Regions from separate parts of the Homo sapiens genome. Here all the other regions are linked to region 5. The links are contacts of gene promoters, found by promoter capture Hi-C in blood cells and fetal thymus (Javierre and others, 2016). All regions are on one chromosome and are shown on one strand. The core of a region is centred on a gene start or on the middle of the fragment in contact, and the rest is flanking DNA. Distances in the headings are between cores, read along the strand shown. Region 1 overlaps MEF2C (myocyte enhancer factor 2C). Region 2 overlaps MIR9-2HG (MIR9-2 host gene). Region 3 overlaps TMEM161B-DT (TMEM161B divergent transcript). Region 4 overlaps MEF2C (myocyte enhancer factor 2C). Region 5 holds the start of RASA1 (RAS p21 protein activator 1). Region 6 overlaps MEF2C (myocyte enhancer factor 2C). Region 7 overlaps MEF2C (myocyte enhancer factor 2C).

Region 1 (3,750 bases), core at 219-2,718, 1.5 Mb before region 5:
CCTGCCACAAATTTGTCTCTGCACTTTTACTTGCTGTTGTTCAATTCACAGTGTCCAAGAGAAAAATAAATTATTTCTCAGAAAAAGTTCATCCATTCTTAGTACTTAGAACAATCAAAATACATTATGATGAATTGTATTTAATATATGTCTATTTTGATACTGGATTTAAAGAACATTTAAGGGAAGAATGTTCTCTTGATTTGCTAAACTAACAGTAGGAACCAAGTCAATGCGTATTGAATATAACAAAATTATTCCTTTATGTTTCCAGAAGCAGCATCAAAAATAATTGTATTTCTAAGTCACATACAGCAAACCATTATATATTTGCATTTCATATTTTTAAAAGTACTCTATAGGAAATTTTTAATGTATCCTACATACACATAGCTGTATGAAAATAGTTTATTCATGGAGGAATTTTCCTGTAGAATACTTATATATCTGCCTTACAATTAAAACCAAACATGTATTACTATTTTTGTTACAGAAGCTTTATATAGAAAATACAGTTAAATTCATCCAAATAAAAAATTTTAATCTTGAGTCTGGGAAATGTATACAAAGGACTTCATTGAGCCATTCTCTTGACTTTTGAATATATTTGAAAATTTTCGTATGAATTTTCAGTAACCACATGTATTCCTTTCAGATCATACTAGAATGCAGTTCACTTTCCTATTTGATAAACTCATGCTCATTTTTTTGAATTTGATACGGTATTTCCAAAATATTATCTGATTGGAAATAATAAACATTTGCTTAAACTGTAACGAAGGCCAGATGCAGTGGGTCACGCCTGTAATCTCAACACTTTAGGAGGCTGAGGTGGGAGGATTGCTTGAGCCCAGGAATTCAAGACCAGCCTGGGCAACATAGAGAAACCCCATCTCTACAAACATTTTTTTTTTAAATTAACTAGGTACAGTGGCTTGTGTATGTGGTCCCGGCTACTCGAGAGGCTGGGGTGGGAGGACCACTTGAGCCTGGGAGGTTGAGGCTGCAGTGAGCCATATTACTGCCACTATACTCCAGCCTGGGCAACAGAGCAAGCTCTGTCTCAAAAAAAAAAAAAAATCGTGTATATATATGTATATATATAAACAAACATTTTCTTTTAATTCCAAAACCTGAACCAACTAATAATTACAGAGTATCACTTAGAGGCAATTAGAAAATCTAGATGATATTCTCACTATTATTCTTTTGGCTGAATGTTGTTTTTTTCAAAACTAAAAGTAATTTTTTTTTTTTTGAGACGGAGTCTCGCTGTGTTGCCCAGGCTGGAGTGCAGTGGCACCATCTCGGCTCACTGCAAGCTCTGCCTCCCAGGTTCACGCCATTCTCCTGCCTCAGCCTCCCGAGTAGCTGGGACCACAGGCACCCGCCACCACGCCCGGCTAATTTTTTGTATTTTTAGTAGAGACAGGGTTTCACCGTGTTAGCCAGGATGGTCTCTATCTCCTGACCTCGTGATCCGCCCACCTGGGCCTCCCAAAGTGCTGGGATTACAGGCATGAGCCACCGCGCCAGGCCCAAAACTAAAAGTAATTTTTATGTTCAATACCTTATTGAAACATCTTGACTCTCATAAATAAACATTGCCAAATTTTAACATACTGTCTAAAGTTAGCAATGAATAAGCATATGTTTCTTAATCTGTGGCCGGTGAAAAATTTGTTATATTGTGTCAGTCAATAAGATTTTAGTAGTAAATGTGGGTAGATTCATGAAACGATCAAATTTCTGGACAATTAACATTGCACAAAATTAATGGCATAAAACATATTTACAAAGAACTAAACATCAAATGTGAGGTCATCTGAGCATATAGTAGACCTTACTCTTTCTTTCACTTTCTATAAAACATCTGCTTAGGGAAAACCTAGACTTAGAAATAATAAAAATGCAGAGACCAAAGACTGGATTTTTTTAAATGTAACTTTCTTAGAAAAAAGATTCTGCAAAATGTCAGTGATTGAATGTATTTTTAACGTTTGAGCACAGCATGGCACAATAAAACAAATGTCAGCCATCTGACTTGGGTTGTACTTTACAAGTTTATGACTATTGCAAGAGGACAAAATACTGAGGTTGCTGAAGGTAAAGTGTTTTGTTCTGTGGGCCTTTAGCCTTTCTCGTTTTGATCTTCCTCTTTAATCCATAGGTGGTCTGATGGGTGGAGACCTCACGTCTGGTGCAGGCACCAGTGCAGGTAAGCCCAGACTCCATACTGCAGTATGTATCATTGTTCTGAGTTCTTCTACTAGGTGATTTGCAGGACAAAGTCTTTTGAACAAATAAAGTTAAGAGATCTGTGAGAGGCATGGAAAAATGACACCAAGAATTTTTAAAGCACTTTTCTGAAGCAGGAGTGGTTAAATAGTAACTTAGAAGAAAACTATTTATTAACTAGAACCTTCCTTAATAAAGCTTCAACTGGTCAGCAGAGAATTAAGGGCTCTGATCCAATCAACTTAATCCTGGATACCATCCTTGGACACAAGAGTACCTTTAGCAAACCATACTTTTTGTGTTCTCTGTTAATCATTTCACATTAAATATGAATCATTTTCCAGCCAAAGAAGTATTGAACTTCTATGCATTTCTAAAGAAGAGTACATAAAGAAAAGGAGGGGTTAAGATTTTAATTATTCAACAATACTGTTAATAAAATAAAATCACATTGGCATTAAAATGAGCTCTTAGACAACATGAATATAATGCATCCCCAAAAGACCCTAAAATATATTTCAGCTAAGAACTTCTTACACTGTGACCAATAATTGTCTCAGTCACATTTCTCCAGGTTTCCGTGTTAATTTGTAATATTGAGATTATTGAGATATCGATGTCATTTTCAATGCAGAGGCAAGATAGCACAATACTTTCAAATGCCAACTGCAGTTCACTATTGGCATAACAAGTAACCATGGTAATTTCTGCAGCTGGAACATGCTATACATTTAAAATAGTAGGAGGCAGGCATGAATGACACAAGGTTATGTTTGAAATGTCAAAAAAAATCAAGTTTATTGAAATAGACATGGATAGCCTAATTAAAATATTTTGCCAGGGTCAAGTAGAATAGCCTGCTAATTATAAGAAAGAAGATAAAGAAAATTGGTTTACAAATACATTTTTATAAATATATCTATTTGAGGGTAGAGTTTCTCTGTTCTGATGCTGGCTCTTCACTAATTCACTGAATAATGAAGAAAAAGTATTAGACCTACACAGTGATTAGCAAACAAGATGAATAACACTAGCTTCCTATTTTATATATCTTTTGAAAATTAGGTCGAGCCAAATTAGTGTGTAAACTCACGTAGTATTTTGCTGGACATGGAAATGAAATTTTTTCCCTCAAAAAATACTTTGTGGTTTGTAGCCTCAAAATGAGAGAACCAGATCAAATCCAGACCAATGTTTCTTGGATCCAAGTCTCTACCAAACACTATGATTAGAAAGAATGGTGAGGACTGAGAATTGGGTGGTCACAAAGACCAAGATATAATATAAGAAAAATGGTTTAGATGTTATGATGTTTTACCCAATATCTCACTGCACCGATTTGCTTGCCATTATGGAAACAGCTAGTAGTGGTTCTGAAAGTCATTAAAAGTAGTAAAAAAGGGCCGGGCGCGGTGGCTCACGCCTGTAATCCCAGCACTTTGGGAGGCCGAGGCGGGCGGATCACGAGGTCAGGAGATCGAGACCATCCCGGCTAAAACGGTGAAACCCCGT
Region 2 (3,292 bases), core at 153-2,652, 1.4 Mb before region 5:
TAGCTAAACACATTTAACAACCACGACACAAACGGGGAGGAGTGAAGAAGGGGGACTTGAACCAAAAGACCTTTAAAAAAAAAAAAGTCTGCGAGTCAAAAGGTCATTCTCCAAGTTTGTAAATAAAATTGCAAAGGGAGTCCTTAAGAAAGGAGAGGAAAGAAGGGGAAGAAGGTTAGGAAGACTCACAAGTTACATAAAACAGTGCATTGGAAAAACGACAGGGAGATTCTGTAATAAAAAAAAAAGAAGAATCTTAAGAAACCAAGAGAGAGAAAAAAAAACTGGAGGAAAAAAGAAAAAGAGAAGAAAAGGATTTTAAAAAAAAGAAAAAAGCAAAAGAAGTTTCCAAAGAAATGTGTGCTTTGCATCCTACAATAGGAAAATGTAGCCATTGCCTTCCTTCAGACGAGACATTTCTAATTTGTTCCGTCTGTCAGGAGGGGACTATGAGAGGTTTGGGTGCAAATTCATTATCTCTGGCAACGCAGAACGTAGTGTGGGGACTGAAAAAGACCGTGGCAATGGATGAACAATAGGGCTTCAGTTCATCAGTAACAAAAGCAGTGGGGAAATTGGTTGAGTTTCAGAGCACGTCCTCCTCGGCAGAGGGGGCTGGACTAGACCTTGGACAGCCCCCCCAAAAACTTGCCAAGCCTCGCACACACCACTTCACTCTCCACTCCGAGGCTCAGGGAGCAAGTGCCTGGCATGGGGGGTAAAAGTTGGCTTTTTTTTTACTCCTTGGTCTTTTGCGCCCTTCTCCCTCTCCCCAGAAGGGAAGACCCATTTAAACTATTTTAGACGCAATCAACCAAGAATCACCATGTGGAATTGAGCGGCAGTTTTAAATGTGTTGAGCAGGGGAGAGGAATGATGAGAAAAACATTTTTTTTTTTTTTTTTGGAGACGCCGAAAGAAGCCTGTTTGTGTGCTGCGGCCGTGCTGTGACTTTGGATCTTGTCTTTCAGCCGGCGCCTCGGTTCCTGCCCAGCTGGATTTGGGGGGCAGCATTGCCTGGCGCAGGGAGATCAAGTGAGTATCGTGGCGGCCCTCAGGCTGCAGCTCGCCCGCGGCGCGAGGCCAGCAGTGCCCGCCGCGGCCCCGCGCCCGCACTCCTCACCTCGCCCGCTAGCCGGTGCCCGCAGAGTCCCGCTGCGGGCCGCTCCGAGGGCCAGTCCGGGGCTTTGCTTCAGCTAATTGATTGTGTGCCTCGGATGTTAAACCTGTTGATCTCGTGAGTTTTCTTAGCCAGTACTGTTAATTATCCAGCGGCTTGACCCCCAATCGCAGAGAGATGCCAGGAAATCTTCGCGTTGGAAAAGGGAATTTTTGTATGTAATTTTGTGGTGGTGGTGGTGGTGGTGTGTTTGGGGGGGCTTTTCCCTTTTAAACCTAGAGCAAAATGCACTTGTATTTTGCACTTCTGTATTCGAATTCGCATTTTGAAGAATTCGCCTCCCTTTAACCGCCCCAAAGTTGCAATTACCTGGCAAGGAAGCGAGGGTCTGATTAGATTTTGGTGGAAAACTTAGTACAGTAGCTAAGTAGATCTGGTGGCTTTCCACTTCCCTTTTCTCTTTGCCTTTTGAATTTTGGGAGGTGAGAGGCCGCTTTACAGGGTTATCCCAAGTTCAGATTCATCAAGATGCAACCATCATGGTTAGTTATTGGTACTTGGAGCGGTTCAGCTTAAGACGCTTCTGGTATCCAAACGGAGCTAGGTCTTTGCGGTTTGCTTAGAGTCTAGACCCGGCTGAGGAAGGCAAGAACTCCTTTCTGTGGCCTGGAATTATCTGCAGGAACCCAGGGTGATGGGAACTCGGGCAATGTATTTGCATTAGTGTCTGCGGCGTTTTATCTTGCAAATGTACCCGCGGTGCTTGAATGGGGGACTGTCTTGAGGGGTCAGGAGAGCAGTGGAATTGATCAGAAGTTAGACCGGAGGCTCTGTCAAGTCACGGCCACGGCCGGGGGCCCCTTTGGAGCTGTGGCTGCCTTGGGCCCAGCACCGCAGAGTCGGGTTCCGTTTCCTCCCTTTCTTGGTGTCCACCTCTGTCTACCACCCTCCTTTCTCCACCTTGGCACCGGTAATTAGGGCGCTGTCTCAGGAAGCGAGCTCCCACAGTCAGCATAATTAAACCAGGGCAATACTTTCATTTTGCAAAACCAATAGCCCCACCCCTCCAGTCCAAAATAACAATAAGCATTAAAAAATCATAAAAGAAAAACAACCTATTTTGGGGAGTATTGAATTCCTGAATGTTGGATCGAGAGGGAATGGGGGAAGGGAAATTTTCAAAAATCCACCACTTTACAGCAATCAGGTTTTACATTATTCATTGATTTACTGGAGGAAAGAGCCAATCAGGAGCCATAGATATGAATGCACATCTCACGGTGCTGTGGCCTTACAGTAAACTATTTGCATCTTTCTAATGGAGTAGATATTTATCCAGGGATTGCCATTGTTCGAAAGGCCTGGAAATTCAGTTCCTTAAACATTTAGAAAATAAGACTTTGTTCCAGACTTAAAATCCTTACATGGAAGGACTCTCCTCTTTTGTATGGCAGGTTACAAGGTTCAAGTCCCTAATGTTTTTTTAAGAGTCCCTCTTCCTTCCAAGCTAAAAATAAAAGAAAAGAAGAAAGAAAAATTAATTTCTCAAACCCCTCCAGATTCTGCATATTTTGCATTCACATTATCATGCATGTCTCCATTTGAATGCAAATTAGCATATTTAACCCCGTGGGTGCTGAGACCTAGGATACATTGTACTGGGGTTTTATGGAATCTCTGGCATTTTAAGGAATCATGTTAATAGCAATATTTTAAATGAAGCAATATCTATATGACTTCATATGTATACATATATATAAACTGTGATCATTTGTTTTCTTGACTATTTTTCAGATGAGACTGCAAAGAAGCATAAAATGAATAGACAATCCAACCAACCAAAGGTAATTTTAAAATTTACATTTGATAAAATCCAAGTGATGTACAAAATAGAGTATTATTTACTAGGCGGTAGGCATGCAGTGGGTTGCATATCTCCTAATTCATGCTCTAAGTTTCTATATGTGCAGCCTTCTCCTCTACAGGGAGCCTTTGTATATTATATATCAAGCATAATACAAATATAACCTGTAACTGCCTATAAAAAAGAAATTCAAGATACAGAGTAAATAATAGAATACTTTTGTTAGAAAGTAAGCCAGTCAGGTACCTTGCCTGAACTATACAAATCACTGTAAATTAAATGGCTTTTATGTAGAAAATGGTAGTCTT
Region 3 (3,773 bases), core at 626-3,125, 1.0 Mb before region 5:
GGTTTAATTGGCTCATGGTTCTGCAAGCTGTACAGGAAGCATAGTGGCTTCTGCTTCTGAGGCAGCTTCAGGAAGCTTCCAATCATGGTGGAAGGCAAAGGGGGAGCAAGAGCAAGAGAGAGGGGAGAGGTACCACACAATTCTAAATTACCAGATCTCCTAAGAACTATTTCAAGGACAGTACCAAGAGGATGGTACTAAACCACGAATGAGAAACCCATTCCCGTGATCCAATCTCCCACCAGGCCTCACCTCCAACATTGGGGATTACAATTCAACATGAGATTTGGGTAGGGACACAGATCCAAACCATATCAATAGTATATTCAGAATCCTTGCAAAGCTCTTCAATAATTTATCTGTAGACTAAGTTATGTTTATTTACAATTTTTAATCTTTTGTTTTTCTTGCCTTATAATGCTGGCTAGGATCTCCAACATAGTACTTGTTCCTGATTCTAATGGACTGCTTCAAATACTTCATCTTAAAATATTGTTGTTGTAGGTTTTATTGGCTCAAGGAAGTTCTACACAATTCTAATTTGCCCAAAGGTTTATCTATGTCTGTTAATTTTTTCAAATAGTTTTCTTTTCCTGCATCTGTTCAGATAGCCAGATAGTTTTTCTAATCTCTTAATATACTAAAATACATTCCTGGGTTAAATTCAACCTGATCATGTTTTATTATCTTTTCTTAAAAACACATTTTCTAAGGTCTGTTTTATTTAGGATTTTTGTCTTTGCGAATATGACAGGGCTGTAATTCTTACTGCCCTTATCAAATCATTACTGCCCTAATAAAATCAGGGCAGTAATATTAAGCTTCTGTAACCTTGATGTTAAATTTGATAAGGGCAGTAAGGGCCAATTCCACAGTATATAAGTGGAATATACTGTGGAATGGTTTGTGTAAAATTGTAATGATCTGTCCTTTGAAGGTTTGGCAAAAGTCTCTGGGCATCATGATTTCTTACATCAACATCCCACCATTTATATTTTCCATTACATGGCTTTTGAAAAGTTACATTTTCTGGAACTGCCTACTTCATTTATATTTTCCCATTTATTATTAAGTTGTTCATAATTTCTCATCAATCTCCACAGCATTTGTAACAACATCCCCATTTTCACTTCTAATAATATTTATTTATTTATTTTTTTCCAAGAGACAAAGGTCTTGTTATGTTGCCTAGGCTAGTCTCAAATTCCTGGCCTCAAGGGATGGTCCCGCCTTGGCCTCCCAAGGTGCTGAAATTACAGACGTGAGCCACCACACTCAGCTTGGACAAAATATAAAACAAACATCTGACAGCATTAGAGACAATGAAATATTCAGAAGGAAAAAACAGAGTTGTTGAATCCAGCATTTACATTAGCTTTTCCTCTGGAGTATCTTCTGATTCCTGAGGTGATGGCTGAAAAGTTGAACAGAGTTTCTAACCCATAGAATTAAAAAGACAAAAACTGAAGTTTAGGGCCTGATCTGGTAAACTCTGCATGCTTGAGTTGGGACTTCAGAGGTCTACATTGTGAAAGTATGAACAGGAAATAGACCTGCCTATATTCTAATTGTCTCTATCACTAACCAGATTAAGAAGATCTTAGATTACTAGTGTCCAAAGGTCTTGCCAGGAGACATAAATTCTTTCTTTAGAAAATACCATCATATTGGACTTCAAAGTATAGTTTCCTCATATACAGTTCAATCAAAACAATTCTGACATTCAATTAAAACATAACCTAAGCCAAGTTTTATATATTTATAATGTTTATAAAATAAATAATACAAAATAACATAAAAATAAGGGACATAAAAGCAAGACAATGTGATAACAGCAAGAAACAAGAAAAGTGTCAGATAATAGCAGACACCATAGTTATTAGATACAGGTTTTAAAGTAATTATGATTAGTATGTTTGAGGAAATAAAAGATTGAGATATTGGATAAACAACTGGAAACAATAAAACAGAATCAAGTAGAAATGTTTGAACTGATAACCAAAAATATAACTAAAATAAATGCTTCAAGAGAGATTTAACAAATTCGAGACTACTAAGAGAAAATAGTGAACTGAAAGTTAAGAAGAAATATTCAGGATGAAACAGACAAGAAAATAAATGGAAAATACAAGGGACAAAGTGAATTGTCAAATACAAATGTAAGTGGAGTATCAAAAGAAGAGGAGAAAGGAGAGTGAAAGCAGAAGCAATGTCTGATCAAACAGAGCTAAGAATTTTCTCAAACAGCCTAAGGACATCACAGCCAGATTCAAGAAACATTATCAATCTCGAAGCAGAAAAAAACCACACACACAAAAAAACAAACACAAAACACATGTGGGCACACCAAACTTAAGACAAACCTCTTAAAAGTAGCCATCCAAAAAAAGATTACCTTTGAAGAGAAAAAAACAAAATGGACATTATGTCTTAGAGGACATAATGGAAGCCAGAAGGAATAAAATATATCTTCAAAATGATAAAATAGCTGCTAATTCAGCAAAAACGTTCTTAGAAAATGAAAGTAAAATAAGACAGTGTCAGGACAGAAAATCTGAATGAATTGTTACCAGTAGATATTCGAAGAAATATTAAAGTATGTCCTTCAAGAAGAAATAAGGTCTTAGATGGAAGCTCAGATTCCAGGAACCACGAAACACAATAGAAAAAGTAAATGTTTTATACAATATGAAATGTAAATTCATATTGTATAAAAAATGTCTTGAGAATTTAGGAAATACATATTAAGAATATACAATGTATATAACATGAGGTGTGGCAGTAAATGAAGTTGATGTGTTCGCAGGTCCTTACATTGTCCTGGAAGAAGTATAATACCAAATTATCTTAAAGATGATAAACCAAGGTTCCATGTTTTAATACCTGAGGTGAACAGTAAAAAGATACTAAAAGACATCTGTCAAGCTTATGAGGTAGAAAAAATGGAATAATTAAAAATAATCTAAAAGGTCTATAGCCATACCACCCTGAATATGCCTGTTCTCATCTGATCTGGGAAGCTAAGCAGGGCTGGGGCTGATTGGCACTTGGATGAGAGTCTGCCTGGGAATATCAGGTGCTATGGCCTAATTAAGAAAAAAAAAAATCAAAAAGGCAAAAGAAGACAAAATGAACATATAAGAGGTGGGACAAATAAAATAAGAATAATGACAAATTTAAATCCAAGTATGTTAGTAATTATGTTACATGAAAGCTGACTCTTTATGCCAATTAACAAATTACCAAAGTGGATTTTAAAAATATATTATCTTATATTACTCTTTGGATTAAAATGCTCTCATTTTTTTTTCCATTGCACATAGAATAAAATCTAAACTCTTTCCTGTCTTTCAAAGGTAACATGATCTAGCCCTTTCCTATCCCTCCAAAGTTACAGTATTTGCGTCTTAAGTCACTATTCTCTAACCATGCAGGCCTTCTTTTGGCTCCTGAAATATTCCAGGCTAGATCATGCCTTAGATTTTGCAGTTGTCCCTTCTGCAAGCAAAGGGTTCACCAATTTTTACAAAGCTGGATTCTCTTGTCATTTACACAGCAGCTTAAATGGTATTTTAGTTTCTTTAATCACCTAATCTAAAATAGTCATGTTTGAATTTCATGCCTAGTACTTACCACTGTCTTCTGTTTTTGTTAATTTATGGCTTATTACTACTAAAATGTAAATTTCCTGATAGTAGGGACAATATCTGCTTTATTTACCACTATTTCCTCAGAGTGTAGAAGAGTGAATGATACAGTTTTATATTCAATAA
Region 4 (3,822 bases), core at 814-3,313, 1.6 Mb before region 5:
CACATGTACCCTAAAACTTAAAGTATAATAAACAAACAAAAAAAATAAATTTTGCTTTGAAGGATTTTTGGTTTTTGCCTTTTGAGAGGAAGGTCTAGGAAATAGATTTTATAATTACCACATAATCCTACATTATCCTACAAGCTACCCTAAAGTCATTAAATATGACTTTACTTTTGTCATTTATCTCTTCAGTGTTTTTTTAAAAAAGTATTGGAGTGAAATGTTAATGGTTTCAATTCAAATTATTAAATTAAAAATGGATCTAGAGTATACTGGATTTGCTAATTTCTGGAAGTTTCTGCATTTCGAAATATTGATTAACGATAGATAATTTCTTAAGGCAGCTTGCAGATTCATTTGCCTGAAACAGAGAAAACAAAACTTTAATAATGGCCAATCATGAATGTGATTGATACAAAGTTAAACACTTAAGACACAGATTAAATAGAATAAATATGTTCAAACTTTTATTGTAGATTTTTAAATTGAGTCTTAGATAACATTGCATGTTAGTCAAATATCACACTCATTCTCTGTATATATATTATGTGCATATGACCTTATTATTTATTTATTTTTAACAAATAAGTTTTGCAATCTTTGCAGGACAAAGAAGAGATATTTCCCATAGAATTCAACAGATTAGCCAAAATCATGTGTGCTGGCTCTTAGATATGTGAATTTTAAGGGTTAAGCAGTTGGAGCATGTGGATTTATGAATGCTTTTTATTTTCAAATTAAATTATTTAGAAACAAGTAAATTAAAAATACTTTAAAATATTTTAAAGTATTTGGCACAAGAATTTTTTTTTTTTTTTTTTTTTGAGACAAAGTCTCACTCTGTTGCCCAATCTGGAGTGCACTGGCGCGATCTCGGCTCACTGCAACCTCTGCCTCCCGGGTTCAAGCGATTCTCCTGCGTCAGCCTCCTGAGTAGCTGGGATTACAGGCAGGCGCCACCATGCCCGGCGAATTTTTGTATTTTTAGTAGAGACGGGGTTTCACCATGTTGGTCAGGCTGGTCTCGAACTCCTGACCTTGTGATCCACCTGCCTCGGCATCCCAAAGTGCTGGGATTACATGCGTTAGCCACCACGCCTGGCTCACAATAATATTATTTTAAGAAGTATTTTCCAATATTGAAGAATCTTTGTGTCATCCAAGAACACATACTACTTACTTCTACATCACCCGTTAAGAACTCTAAATACCTTATTCATTAGTATAGAAAATCTTTTAACTCTTTCACAGAGAAGAATGACATAGGCAAATGGAATTTGTATCCCCAGGAGTGTCAATTTTTTTACCAAAATCCAAACTTAATTTTCATCAGTGTGCCCATTTTTATAATGTGCTTACCCCAGTTGCAAATCACTAGTTAACAGTGTGGAGTGAGAAGTTATACTACTGAAGATTTCAAAATGTGCCTCAGCTTATCTACCTTATTATGACTAGAATAATTATAAGAATTAAATAATATGCATAAAGCACTTAGCATATTGCCTATTATCATTACTATGTAGAGAGATAGAAATGTGTGAAAATGGGAGTTTTTACCTTAAGGATGTAATTTTTCATCCGTGTAAGATTACCCAATATTCTATAAAATAAGAGATGTTACATAACTAGAAAGTTGTAGCCATTCAACCATTTTTCTGGAACTAGCTTTATTATCCTCTACTAAAATGGTTTTGGCCACTATAACTTTGGTCTTTCAAATACAGATCATTATTAAGTTTTTAAATCCAGCAGATTCTCTCCACAATGTCTTTCTGCTCTTTACCTTTGAGGAGTTTTTTTAAATGGCAAATTATTCTATATCATCTTTTTAAAAGTTATGACAATTAAAGATTTAAAATCTCAGCTAAAATATTATATATGGATTTTTAGTTACATTTTATGCCCAATCGCTAGTTGTAAGCATAGTTGTAAGCGTGCTGAATGAAGTTTATTTGCACTTTGTGTATTCCCACTTTTTAGTTATGTACTTTATAAGTGGAATTTATTTGACTCTAACTTTTGTAATTTAGATAATCATTGTTTGTGTTCAAATTCAAATGTGAGGAACTTTGAATGCATTTGTGATCCAAGTCATTACCAAAAATTGTGTAAATATAAATGAGATAAACAAAATAGAAATGGTGGTCTCATATGAAAGGTATAGATTGGTGTCTGATGTTGTATCCTAATTTTATGTACCAGATTCACATGTTAAAATTCTATCTAGAGGTCCTGGGATTATTCTCTCTCCCTTTTTTTTAACATGTGTTTTATAGTCAAGTTACTAAGTGAAAAAAAAGAAAAGAAAAGTGGTAATAGAGGAAGTTGGCACAGAGAATTGTCGCTGTACTCAGCTCTTTTTATCTTTTTCTAAATATAGTCTTAAAATATTGTCCAGGTCAGCTGATGTAAGCAGGGAAGTGCTTCTTCATGTCTTCTTTCTTTCCCAGTCATTTCAATAATGTTTTGGTGAATTAAAGTATGTAAGTGAAACAAAGAAATCAGTGCTGAGTTCTGATAGCAAATTGAAAATTGAAATTGCTAAATTTCCAGATATTATAATAGATTGCTAATCTCAAAACTAGGACTACATTGGTATTCTAGGGCTAAAGTGATAAATTTTTAATAGAGATGTCTCCTACGAGCAAGTCTTATTATAACATACTAGAATATCATTTATTCTTTCAGGGTGTGATTTATTCTATTTAAATATAAGTCCTGTAAAGAAGATGTGTTAATCTGTTTTTACTCTACATAAATATGACTGCTACTCTCTAGTCAGTAGATGTATTCAAAAGCCAATATGTCTACACTCTCACATTTCTTCTGTAAATGATGAATAATGTTGATAAATGAAAATTACAAATCCGCAATAGAGCTTAACTATTGAATACTAAATCATTCTGTTGCTAACTCCATGTTCCAGTGACATTTTTGATATAAAAAGACGTCATTCCTGCATTTAAAAAATATTTTGTGCTTTTGCAGCAATATAAGCAAATGTACATTTGAAAGAAAATTCACAATGCAGCCACAAATAATTCCCTTTAAGATTCAAGGTGCCATTTCAAAAATGGTTCAATTTTCAAAGTAGAATATTTAAAACCTCTTTCCTGCCAGACTATATCCATTCCACGTGTTTGGTACAATTAAAATAGAAGAGTTGGTGGAATGAAACTCTTCCATCTATATTTTGGAAAAACATATTCACTCACCTCAGTTTGTCAGTGTACATTTAGAGGCTGGTCATTATGCAGTAGAAAAAAGAAGAAGGCAGCTCCAACTCATGTGACTGACATACTGAATATGGCCATTAATACAACTTGACAGTGACCTTGGCGGCATTACAGGTAATCTCCCTGCAGGGATAAACTGTGTTTGAATGATATTTCTACCATGTTGAGCACAAAGAGATTTCTCCTTGGAACTTTACTGCTTAATTTTCTTTTATGCTAACAAAGACATTACAGAGTGATTTTTGTAATGATTTTCTTTTTCCTTTTGCTCTCTGAAATGACAGTTTACTACATGGTATTGCTGCTGTCATTTTTCTGTCATTATAGGGAAATGCCATATATTTGTAGCACTTTCGTAAAGTGTTGAAGTAGGCCAGGCATGGTGGCTCACGCCTGTAATTCCATCACTTTGGGAGGCAGAGGTGGGTGGATCATCTGAGGTCAGGACTTCAAGACCAGCCTGATCAACATGGTGAAACCCTATCTCTACCAAAAATACAAAAATTAGCCTGGCGTGGTGGCGGGCACCCGTAGTCCCAGCTACCAGGAGGCTAAGGCAAGGAGAATCGCATGAACCCGGGAG
Region 5 (3,818 bases), core at 1-2,500:
ATTCCTACCCAAGAAACCTGAAACTTCAAAAACTTTTCCTAACAAACCACAGATGAAAAGGACAAAGTATGATTTACCCCTTCATTTCCACTTCTTTTCTGGAGCCAGCTTCCCAAATTCCTGAACAGCAGTCTTAACTTACTGGTTAGTTGGAGGAGCGGTCAACGGTATGGCCACCTCTTCCTCCTCGTATTCTGGTCCATCCAGAGAGTCACCTTCGTCCACTGTCCCGAGGCCCGCCCCCAAAGGGGGCAGGTAAGGGGGAGGGGGCAGAGGGGGAAAACCGCCGCCTGGCCCGAGAGTCTCAGCAAGCAACGAAGTGGGCAGTTTGGTGAGAGCCATGTCTCCACTAGGTCCAGCAACAGCAGCACCGGCCACGCCAGCAGCAGCACCAGCTACGCCAGCAGCAGTACCTCCCCCTGTCAGTCCAGCTCCCCCCAGTGCCCCTGCCACAGACCCGGCTCCTAGGAACTCTGACCCCAAAGCGGCTCCGCCACCCAGAGTTCCAGCCACTCCGGTCTCCACCAGCCCAGGATAGGGGGCGGCTGCCACAGGCAGGGCCGCGGGTATCTTCACCCGACACACTGCGGGATAGGCACTGGAGCCCGCTGCCGCGCCGCCTCCTCCAGCTCCGGCTGTTACCGGGCCGCCCTCCTCACTGCCGGCCTCGGCCGCCATCATGTTGAAGCCCGCTCTACTCTGCCCTACCCTGCCCGCCCGGGAGCCCCAGGGGCCACCAGGCCCGGGCTCCGAGCAGCCCCACCCAGACGCGTCTCCCCTTCAGCTCCCCAGGCTGAGGAAACAACAACAAAAGGAGAGAGCCCGCCGCCGCGCCCCCTCCTAGGGCCACAGCCCAGGCTCCCCAGCTGCCTGGGTTACGGGAAGCCAAGTGGGCAAAAAACCCAACGCCTGCACAAACGCCACCCAAACCTCACCGCACACACCCACACTCACGCACACAAACACATGTACAGAAGCGAAAACTTCCTCGCTGCACTAAAGAGGAAAGGAAGCACAGGGAAAGAGGCTGAGGCTGCTACCGCTCCTTCAGCCGCCACCACCGCTTCTTCACCACCCCAGTTCCGGCCACCCACACCGCAGCCACCGCCGGTGCCGCTGCTGAGGCTGGGGCCACTGCAGCCGCTTCATCCTCCACCAGGCAGATGAGAGGGGTGGGGGGGCAAGAGAAAGGGGGGCGGGGTAACGAGGAAATCGACTGAACTGCTCACTACCTGGAGCTCTCAGTGAGTGAAACGGGAGAGAGAGAAAGGAAGGCGGGGCAGGGGAGGAGGGACGGAGGGAAGGAAGGGCGGAGAAGGGAGAGGGCAGCTTGTGCGCAGGCGCGTTCCCGGAGCGGGGGCGGGGGGCCGGGCCGGGAGGAAAAGGAAGAGTCCAGAGGGAAGGAAGCGGCGGGGACGCGCGGTGCGTGGTCGCGCTTGCTGTCCTCCTCCGGTTCCAAGCGTGTGGCGGCGCGGCCGCATCTCCTGTTGGCGTGGCCGGCGGCGCGCGCCTGTCTCCCGGGGCTTTGTTTGATGGGCGGGAGAAGAGGGAAGGGTACCTGAGCACGCGGGTGCTTGGCGCTGTTAAAGCCGGAGAGACCAGAGGGGGACCAGGAGGCGGTGGAGAGGAAGGAGGGGGAAAGGGAAAGGAAAATGCCCAGAAACTAGTTCCGTACTTCCTGACCAGTGGAAAAAACAGCCTTAACCAGCAGCGCAGAAACCGGGCAGGGGTCAGGTAGCTTTGAAGATCGGGGCAGTACTATTAATGTTTTCTTTTTCGTTGCATGCTATAAATCACTATGACTATCTCACACACACACAGTTAAAATAGATTCTGAAACTCCAAAACGAAATAAAGGGCACCATATGAGAAGGGTGAAGAATTTGAGTAGAAATAGTGGTTATGAAGTAAGATTTCTACCAGTATTTGCATACGTTTTTCTTTATCAACTGTCTCATATACTTACCTATGCCATTATAAGTCTGTTGGATACTGATGAAGAGGAGGAGGTGCCACAGAAAACACTAATCAATGCACTTTTGTCCTGGTTTGTGTGCAAAAGACTGCAGGACGTGATCCACAATGCAAGCACCTTCAACAAGTCAAATGTCAAGAATGTCCCAGAATGCTAGTTATAATTATATATCGTTTCAAAAGTAGCAATAAACTGAAAACTCATTTTTAATACAATTAAGGAGAAGGGTGTTATTTTGTCTTTTACACTAAAATGTATACAAACTATGCATTCATGTAGAGGGAGCTTCCCATGGTTTGAAATTAACAATATTGTTAAATTCTCCCAGGAGTGATCCCACATTAAATACCATTGGATATTGATCTTTGAGATCAATATTTTCTGTGCTAAGGATGATCAAACTAACACTCAGGATGGCAAGTGGCTGTGATAGAAACCCAGGAAAAAGAGAAAAGACCACTAAAAGACGTGACAAGATACAGGCAATGCATTGCCTTTGTAAGTTTGCACAGGCCTATTTACCTAGTCAATGACAACAATCCAACTTGATTAGGAGTAGTCCTGGGGCCTCCATTACGCATATCTCTTAGCAGTGTGCTACCTGGGAGAAGGAAGATGGACCAGTCACAGGAGCTAGAGTTCTCAAAGTGAATTCAGGCCGCAACATCCTAGGAATTCAGAAATGCCACCTCAGACCTTCTGAATCAGAAAATATGCAGCGATCCATTTTAACAAACCCTCCAAGTGATTGTTTGCACACTTAAGTTTGAGAACCACTATATTAATGTATAGTATACTAATCAAGAAGGAGGTATGCAATACCTAAAAACGGTTCTGAAAGAAATAATAAATGTCATTCATTAGGTGGGTAGGTAAAATAGGCGGGTTTTGAGTTGCCAAGCTCTGTGCTGTTCTAGAAATGAGAATGAAGTAGTTCCATAATACTTAATAATGAAGTACTACTTATGGTGGCCTCCCTGAGAACAGTTTTCTTTTAAACTTAGACCCTCAGTTAGACAAGACTATCAAAATACCTACTCTACTTACTGTCTGCTGTGTGAACACCAAGTGCAACAATCCCAACAAATCTTAATATAGCCTGTGCTTGAAAACCTCCAGTGTGTTAGCATCCCAATCCTCCAACATTCCTGTCCCAGTCACCACTGTCAGCCCTTGAATGCAGGACATTGAACTGGCAGGTTATCACCGGCTCTTGGTTATCACTGATTTCTAAATGTTCACACACCCTCTGTATGTTGCCTGGGAGTCCAGGTGAGGCTCACTACTCTTACTGCAGAATTACCTCCTCCTTTTTGACAATTCTTTAGCACTTGTAAAGGTCAATATTTAATGCAGTCTAACACCTATCAAATGCTCAATTAAATGTTTTCTAGACTTTTAGGTGTATGTACCTACAAAACTGTACTGCAAATACAACCTGTGGTCTATTCTACTGCCTAGCCCAGTCCTAGGCAACCTCAGTATGCTACTTTGAACAGATCTTCATCCTTTTAACAAATACCAAATTTGATCAGCTCCCATCTTTGGAAATCAATTTCTTAACCAGTAGGAAATAACTACTATGTCTATTTGTAAATCAGCCTTATACCAATATCTTACCTAGTTTTTGTTTAGCCTTAGAGTTAGCCCTGTTCTTTTCCTCCAAAGAAATTGCCACATATTTTTATGAGGTATTTTCAGATATTTAATATATTCCTATTATTGGATAGATCTAGGCTCTAATCTTTACTATTGCTTGTGTACTTTCTGAATCTCAAATACGTTGTCTATCTTTATTTTCATTTTTTCCAAAAGGATTTAATGTTTCTACTTAATTTTTGTC
Region 6 (3,380 bases), core at 83-2,582, 1.6 Mb before region 5:
CACTTCAACCTGGGCAACAGAGTGAGACCCTGTCTCAAAAAAACAAAAAACAAACAAACAAAGAATCTTAATGTCGCACTTTTGAGCTAATAATTGAATATCTTTTCTTTTTTTATATATAGTTGCAGCTACAGTGGCTGTTACCCTCATCCAGGTTAGAAGTCATAATAACTTTAGAAGAAGAAAACTTATTTAAATTCAGCTTAGTTTGACTTATCATTTTTTTAAATTCTGAAGACAGATTTCTTGATTTTATTCTTTAGAATTTAGGGTATATTTATTCTTTTCTCCAGTCTTTAGATACAGTAGGCCTGTAAGTTCAATACTTTTAAACAGAATTAGTAAACTTGAAATCCACCATGTTTTAATATATATTTCAGTGATTATTTTAGAGGCTGTTGACAATTTCAAACATCTTACATATAAATGCTTGTCTTGTGCACCTCTCACCTACTATGAGAGCAGTTGTAAGAGTCATTTGGGAAAGAGCCTAAATTATGTAGGTCACTTCTAATAAACAAAACCAGCAAATCCGAAACAGCATATCATACTGTGTAGAGGCACCCGTAACCTGGGCTTTCTTTCAACTGTGTATTCACATGTTGCAAAGAAAAATGCTTTGCCCTCTTTGAAGCTGCCCCACTGTAGACTGTCCAGTAGAACCTCATGCAATGGCTCACTGTCATCTTTTCTTAAAAGTTGTCAAAGACTGCTCTGCCATTGCACTTGTTTATTTAGCTATACACAGAATAAGTTATGTTTTTTCCAGAAAAAGAAATACTGACTTCAAGTGTGAAATGAAATATTACAGCACTGATGTTATAAGTTGTATATCATTAAGAAATAAAACTGTTGTGAAATAGAATGGCTGTTTAAATTGAATTTTACCTTTACTTTAGCTGTCTTTCATAATGGAAGTAGGGAACAGCTCAAATTCAGAAACATCAATACATGAAATAGTTTAGGTGAGAATAAAAATTGACAGCTCAAATTCAGAAACATCAATACGTAAAATAGTTTAGGTGAGAATAAAAATTGACAGCTTTTTTATTTAAAAAAATTTTTTGGCATTTCCAAGTTTACAAAAACTATTTCTTTCTTAGTTTCAAGCTTAGACAACATGGATTTCTTAAGCAAGTATGTAAAAATAACATTATGAATTGTTAATTTATCTTACAGAAATTTTCAGACAACCTAATAAAAGTAGTTACCAATTATGTGCCAAGAACTATATATATATATATAATTACAAATAATTTTTATTAATAAGTCCCATTTTATGGCTGAATAATTCATTTATCTGTGAAATCAACAAATATTACTAGACTGCAGTGTACCTAACACCAAGTATTCAGTGGTGAACAAGAATCTCATCCAGCTTATCCTCTGCTTTAGGGGTTCAGCGAGCTTTCCTGTAAAGGACCACATAGCAAATATTTTTAGCCTTGTGAGCCATATAGTTTTTGTCTCAACTACTCAGCTCTGCCCTAGTAGTCTGAAAGCCGTATGCAGTATGTAAATGAACCTGTGTGGCTGTGCTCCAATAAAGCTTTACTGACAAAAACAGGGCGTTTGGATTTCACTTGTAGGCTACAGTTTATGGACCCCTGATTGAGTTAAACAGACATGAAATATAAAAATATATAACAAAAATTTCACTTATATGTGCTATGAAAGAATAATAGGAGGTACTTTATTTACATCAGGGTTGGAGAAAGGCCTGAGGAAGTGCTAAAAGATGAGCTAAAAGATGATTCAGAGTTAGGCAGGTGACAGCATTCCAGAAGCAGTATTTGCAAAGTTCCTTAAGAGAGGAAAGAGCTTGACTGAGGAGCTGAAGGAAGATCAGTGGGACTTAAGCCTGGTGTATGACTGTAGAGAAATGAGAGAAAAGATTGGATGTTAGACAGGACCCAGATATCGCAAAGCTTTGAAGGTCCTGTTAAGTTCTAAATAACTGGCTCAAGATTGTACAGTTAAAACTGGGAAGTGACCAAGATCTGAGCCCGGATCTCTCATATTCAACACGAAACAAATTATGCTTTTTAAAATTATGTCATGATGCATCTAGTGTAATATAATAACTAAGAGCATGGTTTTGTGTCATTACTTTTCCCAATTATACTGCATCCAGTATAATCAAATGGCTAAGAGGCATAGTTTTTAGAGACACACAAACTTCGTTCTTGTCCCAGTTCTGCCACTTACTAGCTATGTGACCCTCTAGCAAGTTACTTAGACCCTCTGAGCTTCAGCAGTACCCTCATCACTAGAGTGAGGATGAAAAAAAGTTAGTACCTTTCTCATTAGGTCTTTAAGACAATTAAATGAAGCAATAAATGTAAAGCACCCACCAAATAATAAGTGCTCAATAAATTTACCTATTAGCTATTCCTATTAAGACTCAGGCTCTTTGAACCATTAGCTATTATAGTTAATGTGATTTCTATCAAAACAACTCTTGTACTGTGTAGCACAATAAAGAATGTTACCTAAACCTTCATTTCATGAGGGTTTTATTTTAAAAGGGTATTGAGGAGATGGATGGAAAAGTGGAACAGGTAGAGCAGGAGCACAAAGGAGCCTTCAGAAGCCAACAAGGGGCTAGAGAATGATACCAGAGCAGGAGTGAGCTGATGCAGAGAGGATAGTTTGTGGACAAGAAGGAAAGATCACACAGGACGTTTGCAGAGGATTTATGACAAGGATGGGGAGAAGTCGTTTCCTAAATGTTATGCTTGTGGGACCTGTTTTCAAATATATGTTACTGACCAAATTATTTTTAACTACTCCTCACCATTTTTATCACTACCAGCTTCTAGCTTATGCTAACACTACAGTTTCAGTCTCTCCGTCGGCATTTTTTTTTTACCCTTGAAATACCTCCATCAGTTAGGCAGTCTTACCCTCTTTCACATGGTACCAATTTTTAATCATGCTCCTGAAACAGATTTTTTTCTGTGACACTTTTATTGTATTTTACAGTAACATATATATGCAAAGGTTTAAAAAGTTCAACAACAAACTGGTTTTTATGAACAGATGGTTTTGGGGGTGCTTGTTTCATTTCTTTTGTGTTTAAAATTTTTTAAATTAACAAATAATTGTACGTATTCATAGGGTGCACAGTGATGTTTTAATATGTATAATGTATAGTGATCAAATCAGGGTAGTTAGCATATCCATCATCTCAAACATTTATCATTTCTTTGTCTTGGAAACCTCCAATATCCTCCTTCTAGCTATTTCAAACTGTAAGATATATTAACTGTAGTCATCCTTTGGTGGGATAGAACACTTGAATGCATTTGTCTTATTTAGCTGTAATTTTGGGTCCTTTAACAGTTTTTAAATGAATATTGTCCTTATATGACTCTTTC
Region 7 (3,405 bases), core at 207-2,706, 1.5 Mb before region 5:
CACATCACTACCCAGTGAGGTGGGACTCTGGCACATTTCACTCCTTAGTGTGTGCCCATCACTTTGTACTGGCTGCCTGGAGCACACAGTTAAGGAAGATGCTGAGTCCAAGTCCAGACATTCAGGAAGTGTGATGTGATTGGTTAGGGGCATGTGCCTTGGGTGCAGAGAGATAGTAGTACCCATAACTTTTTCATTATTTTCTTGGTCAAAATAATCAATAGGACATTCTGGGAAAAGACTTAATCAAAGTCAGTCATTAAAAGGACTGTAATTAGGTAAATGCTGCATATGTGTACAACAGATTAAGTAAATAGATTATATTATTGGAAATATACCCCATTTTATAGCTATTTGGCATATTATCCAGTCATGTCTCAATGGTGTTTAGTGTATTCTGCACTACTCTGAAATTTAACCACCTGGAAGAAGTTATGAATAAGAAAAAAAATTCTCTGTCAATTATTTCTAAAGGTCATAGAGTTAATGACTAGCTGGAAGGTTAATTAGATTCTGAAAACCTCTTCATATCAATTAAATCTCTTATCTTTATGTTTTAGTAAATAAACTGAATAACTATTTAGAGCTACTGTTCTAGGGTAAGAAACGTTGTAAACAGTAAAACTACACAATGGGTGTTTGGGTTTTTTCCTCACATTAAAAAAAAAAATAGTTATAGCAGGCATGGTGGCTCACACCTGTAATCCCAGCACTTTGGGAGGCTGAGACAGGAGGATTACTTGAGCCTAGGAGTTCAAGACCAGCCTGGGCAACATACAGAGACTCCAACTCTACAAAAATAAAAATAAATTAGCTGGATGTGGTGGTGCATACCTGTACTCCTAGCTACGCAGGAGACTGAGGTCAGAGAATCACCTGAGCATGAGAGGTTGAGGCTCCAGTGAGCTGTGATCATGCCACTGTACCCCAGCCTGAGTGACAGAGCAAGACTCTATCTCAAAAAAAAAAAAAGTATTACAAAAAAGTAGATATATGAATTAATAATAGTAACTTATTTTAATAATAGTAACTTATTTTATAATTTCTGAATTACTTTATTTTTCAAAAATAAAAGTGTGCATATTACTATTTAATCATAAACAAGTTCCATCACTATGATGTCAAGGAGGAAACCATTTCATAGAAAAATAGACCAAAGTTACCCTATGCATGAGCTACTACTAATCTAAAGCCAACTTCACTCTCAGTTATTTCAATAGGACATAAGTTTATTGATTGACTCTGTGGTTAGTTCCAGAAACCCAACCCCTTTGAAAGTTACTGTACACATTTGTAAATAAATGGTATATTTAGCACCTATACTATGACAATTATAAACTCATTTGTGTCATGTAAATTTTCTTTGGATAATATAACCAGACTTCAGATGAAAAGACATAGATCTGCATTAATCTGTAAGGTAGCCTAGCCACATGTGGCTATACAAATATAAATATAATTTAAATTACATAAAATTAAAAGTTCAGCTTTTCAGTCTCACTATCCACATTTCAAGCAAGATGTGACTAGTGGCTCCCAAATATAATTGTCCATTATGAAAGAAACCCTCTGTTGGACAGTAAATGACGAAACTGGTGCATCTAGTGTTCTCTTTCATTCAAATAACTGGCATGGGCTGGCCGAGGTGGCTCATGCCTGTAATCCCAGCACTTTGGGAGGCCGAGGCAGGCGGATCATTTGAAGTCAGGAGTTCAAGACCAGCCTGGCCTACATGGTGAAACCTCATCTCTACTAAAAATACAAAAAAAAAAAAAATTAGCCAGGCGTGATGGCACACGCTTGTAATCCCAGCTACTCGGGAGGATGAAGCAGGAGAATTGCTTGAGCCCGGGAGGCGGAGGTTGCAGTAAACTGAGATTGTGCCACTGCACTCCAGCACTCCAGCCTGGGTGACAGAGCGAGACACAGTCTCTAAATAAATAAATAAATAAATAAATAAATAAACAAACAAACAAACTGGCATGATGGTTAATAGATACAGCCCAATAAAGGATATGTAAACTGGAGAGGTTGCACCTGGCTACTTCACCTTCCATTCCTGCAGCAGGCATTTATGACATGCCCACTGTGCGTCAGTCAGGACCTGAGCCAGGGCAGAGAAATCCAACCAGGAAAGTTGAATCACTCAGTTGGCATTTACTCCAAGGAACAGAATATTTGTTAAAGTCTATGTGATTTTGTGGAGAAAGACGAGAAAATGGAGGGATCACTGAAGCTGGAATTGCCCTGAGGAAGAAGAGAAAATGGAAAAGGCACAGGAAAAATGAGTAGTAAGAACGTAGAAATAAGCTAGGTCCCTTGTGAACTTTTCCAACAGGAAAGAAAAGATCATGCGTGCACACGGTTTCTTCTGATTTTTCTTAATTAGTATGTGCGGAATTTTATCTTCATCCAGACTCCATGATTGGTTTTCCTTAACTGTAGTTGTTCTGAATTAATTTCATGTGGGGGAAAAATAAAGCTACAAAGTGATTTTTCTAAAGAATATTGTTGAAGCATTGTTATGAGAGTTCATCTTTCAAATTTTACTTCTAGGATATAGGACTTTAAAAGCTCCACAAATTTGAAGGAAAGATGGAGATTAAAAATTCAGTTCCAGTTACAGCAACATCACACACTCTCATTCTCTAACGGAGGGCGAGTTATGTAACCTTGCTGGGCTTTAGGTTCCTCATGAGTTAATGCTGTCTACCCTGAGCTCCTTACGGGGCTGTCATGAGGATTGCAGGTTATAACAGCTGTCAGAGCCCATTGTCAACCCTTAAGTTTTAAAAAATTAGTTTTATTTTCAAAGTCAAGAGAAAAAGTTCAGAGAAGAAAAAATGCTAACCAAAAGAAAGACAAAAATTCTTAATTTACGACTGCATAGTTTATGCTAATAAGTGTATTATTTATAAGTAAATATTGAATGATTATATAAATAACTGTAGCATTTTACATAAATTAAGAAGATCTAACAAAGGTCAACGAATTGATTTTTTTTTTCTTTTCCACAAGTATTTATTAAGTGTATGTGCAAAGTATGGTGTTCACGGCCCTCCAGGGCCAGTAGCAGTCCATGGTGGACAGAATATACACAGTATTTGTTCTCTCATTCAGTAGATATTGATGGACATGAAGATCATTTGCTAAGCATTCTGCCAGTTACTGGTGATGCATCTGTGATTATGATACCCAATTATCTGAACCATAATAAGATATAGACAAAGTACAGTGGGCTAACAGAGGAGAAGGAAAGCAGTTACAACTGTGAGCACCTGAAAAATCTTACTGTAGATTTCAGATGAAGGCATGGCCTTGAATAAGTAGAATAATTTGATATGCTAAGCCAATCTGAGAACCATTTTTCCCATTTAAACTAAAAGTGAGACTAATAAATGTAGT

The links. Contacts are between HindIII fragments. The CHiCAGO score rates a contact against its expected background, and 5 or more counts as called.
Region 1: a fragment that was not itself captured here is called in contact with the fragment with the promoter of RASA1 in region 5 in 1 of 17 cell types (total B cells); the score reaches 5.8 in total B cells.
Region 2: a fragment that was not itself captured here is called in contact with the fragment with the promoter of RASA1 in region 5 in 2 of 17 cell types (naive CD8 T cells and naive B cells); the score reaches 6.7 in naive CD8 T cells.
Region 3: a fragment that was not itself captured here is called in contact with the fragment with the promoter of RASA1 in region 5 in 1 of 17 cell types (non-activated CD4 T cells); the score reaches 6.9 in non-activated CD4 T cells.
Region 4: a contact is called between a fragment that was not itself captured here and the fragment with the promoter of RASA1 in region 5, in 2 of 17 cell types (M0 macrophages and M2 macrophages). The highest score is 6.3, in M0 macrophages.
Region 6: a contact is called between a fragment that was not itself captured here and the fragment with the promoter of RASA1 in region 5, in 1 of 17 cell types (M2 macrophages). The highest score is 7.1, in M2 macrophages.
Region 7: a fragment that was not itself captured here is called in contact with the fragment with the promoter of RASA1 in region 5 in 1 of 17 cell types (M0 macrophages); the score reaches 6.1 in M0 macrophages.

What each region holds. Positions count from the first base shown.
Region 1 is chr5:88,747,538-88,751,287 of GRCh38, reverse strand. MEF2C (myocyte enhancer factor 2C) reads left to right here. Exons shown (of 11, transcript NM_002397.5): 6 at 2,171-2,218. Among named protein-coding and RNA genes, the nearest start is that of GSCAR, 52 kb to the right of the region's middle. The HindIII fragment of the contact is 1,940 bases long and covers 499-2,438 here.
Region 2 is chr5:88,670,708-88,673,999 of GRCh38, reverse strand. MIR9-2HG (MIR9-2 host gene) reads left to right here. Exons shown (of 4, transcript NR_152235.1): 2 at 2,915-2,964. Among named protein-coding and RNA genes, the nearest start is that of MEF2C-AS2, 3.9 kb to the left of the region's middle. RefSeq lists enhancers at 1,109-1,722, 1,723-2,335. The HindIII fragment of the contact is 7,016 bases long and covers 1-3,292 here.
Region 3 is chr5:88,273,573-88,277,345 of GRCh38, reverse strand. The region is part of intron 2 of TMEM161B-DT (TMEM161B divergent transcript); the gene reads right to left. It also overlaps the pseudogene RNA5SP187. Among named protein-coding and RNA genes, the nearest start is that of TMEM161B-DT, 6.6 kb to the right of the region's middle. The HindIII fragment of the contact is 2,104 bases long and covers 824-2,927 here.
Region 4 is chr5:88,846,156-88,849,977 of GRCh38, reverse strand. The region is part of intron 1 of MEF2C (myocyte enhancer factor 2C); the gene reads left to right. Among named protein-coding and RNA genes, the nearest start is that of MEF2C, 35 kb to the left of the region's middle. The HindIII fragment of the contact is 4,623 bases long and covers 1-3,822 here.
Region 5 is chr5:87,265,315-87,269,132 of GRCh38, reverse strand. It overlaps RASA1 (RAS p21 protein activator 1), which reads right to left and starts at 1,250. Exons shown (of 25, transcript NM_002890.3): 1 at 143-1,250. The coding sequence starts at 681. RefSeq lists enhancers at 479-528, 286-1,173, 1,227-1,521 and silencers at 709-888, 1,229-1,478. The HindIII fragment of the contact is 5,594 bases long and covers 1-3,818 here.
Region 6 is chr5:88,817,941-88,821,320 of GRCh38, reverse strand. The region is part of intron 2 of MEF2C (myocyte enhancer factor 2C); the gene reads left to right. Among named protein-coding and RNA genes, the nearest start is that of MEF2C, 64 kb to the left of the region's middle. RefSeq lists an enhancer at 1,596-1,645. The HindIII fragment of the contact is 439 bases long and covers 1,113-1,551 here.
Region 7 is chr5:88,786,739-88,790,143 of GRCh38, reverse strand. All of the region lies in intron 3 of MEF2C (myocyte enhancer factor 2C), which reads left to right. Among named protein-coding and RNA genes, the nearest start is that of GSCAR, 91 kb to the right of the region's middle. The HindIII fragment of the contact is 4,308 bases long and covers 1-3,405 here.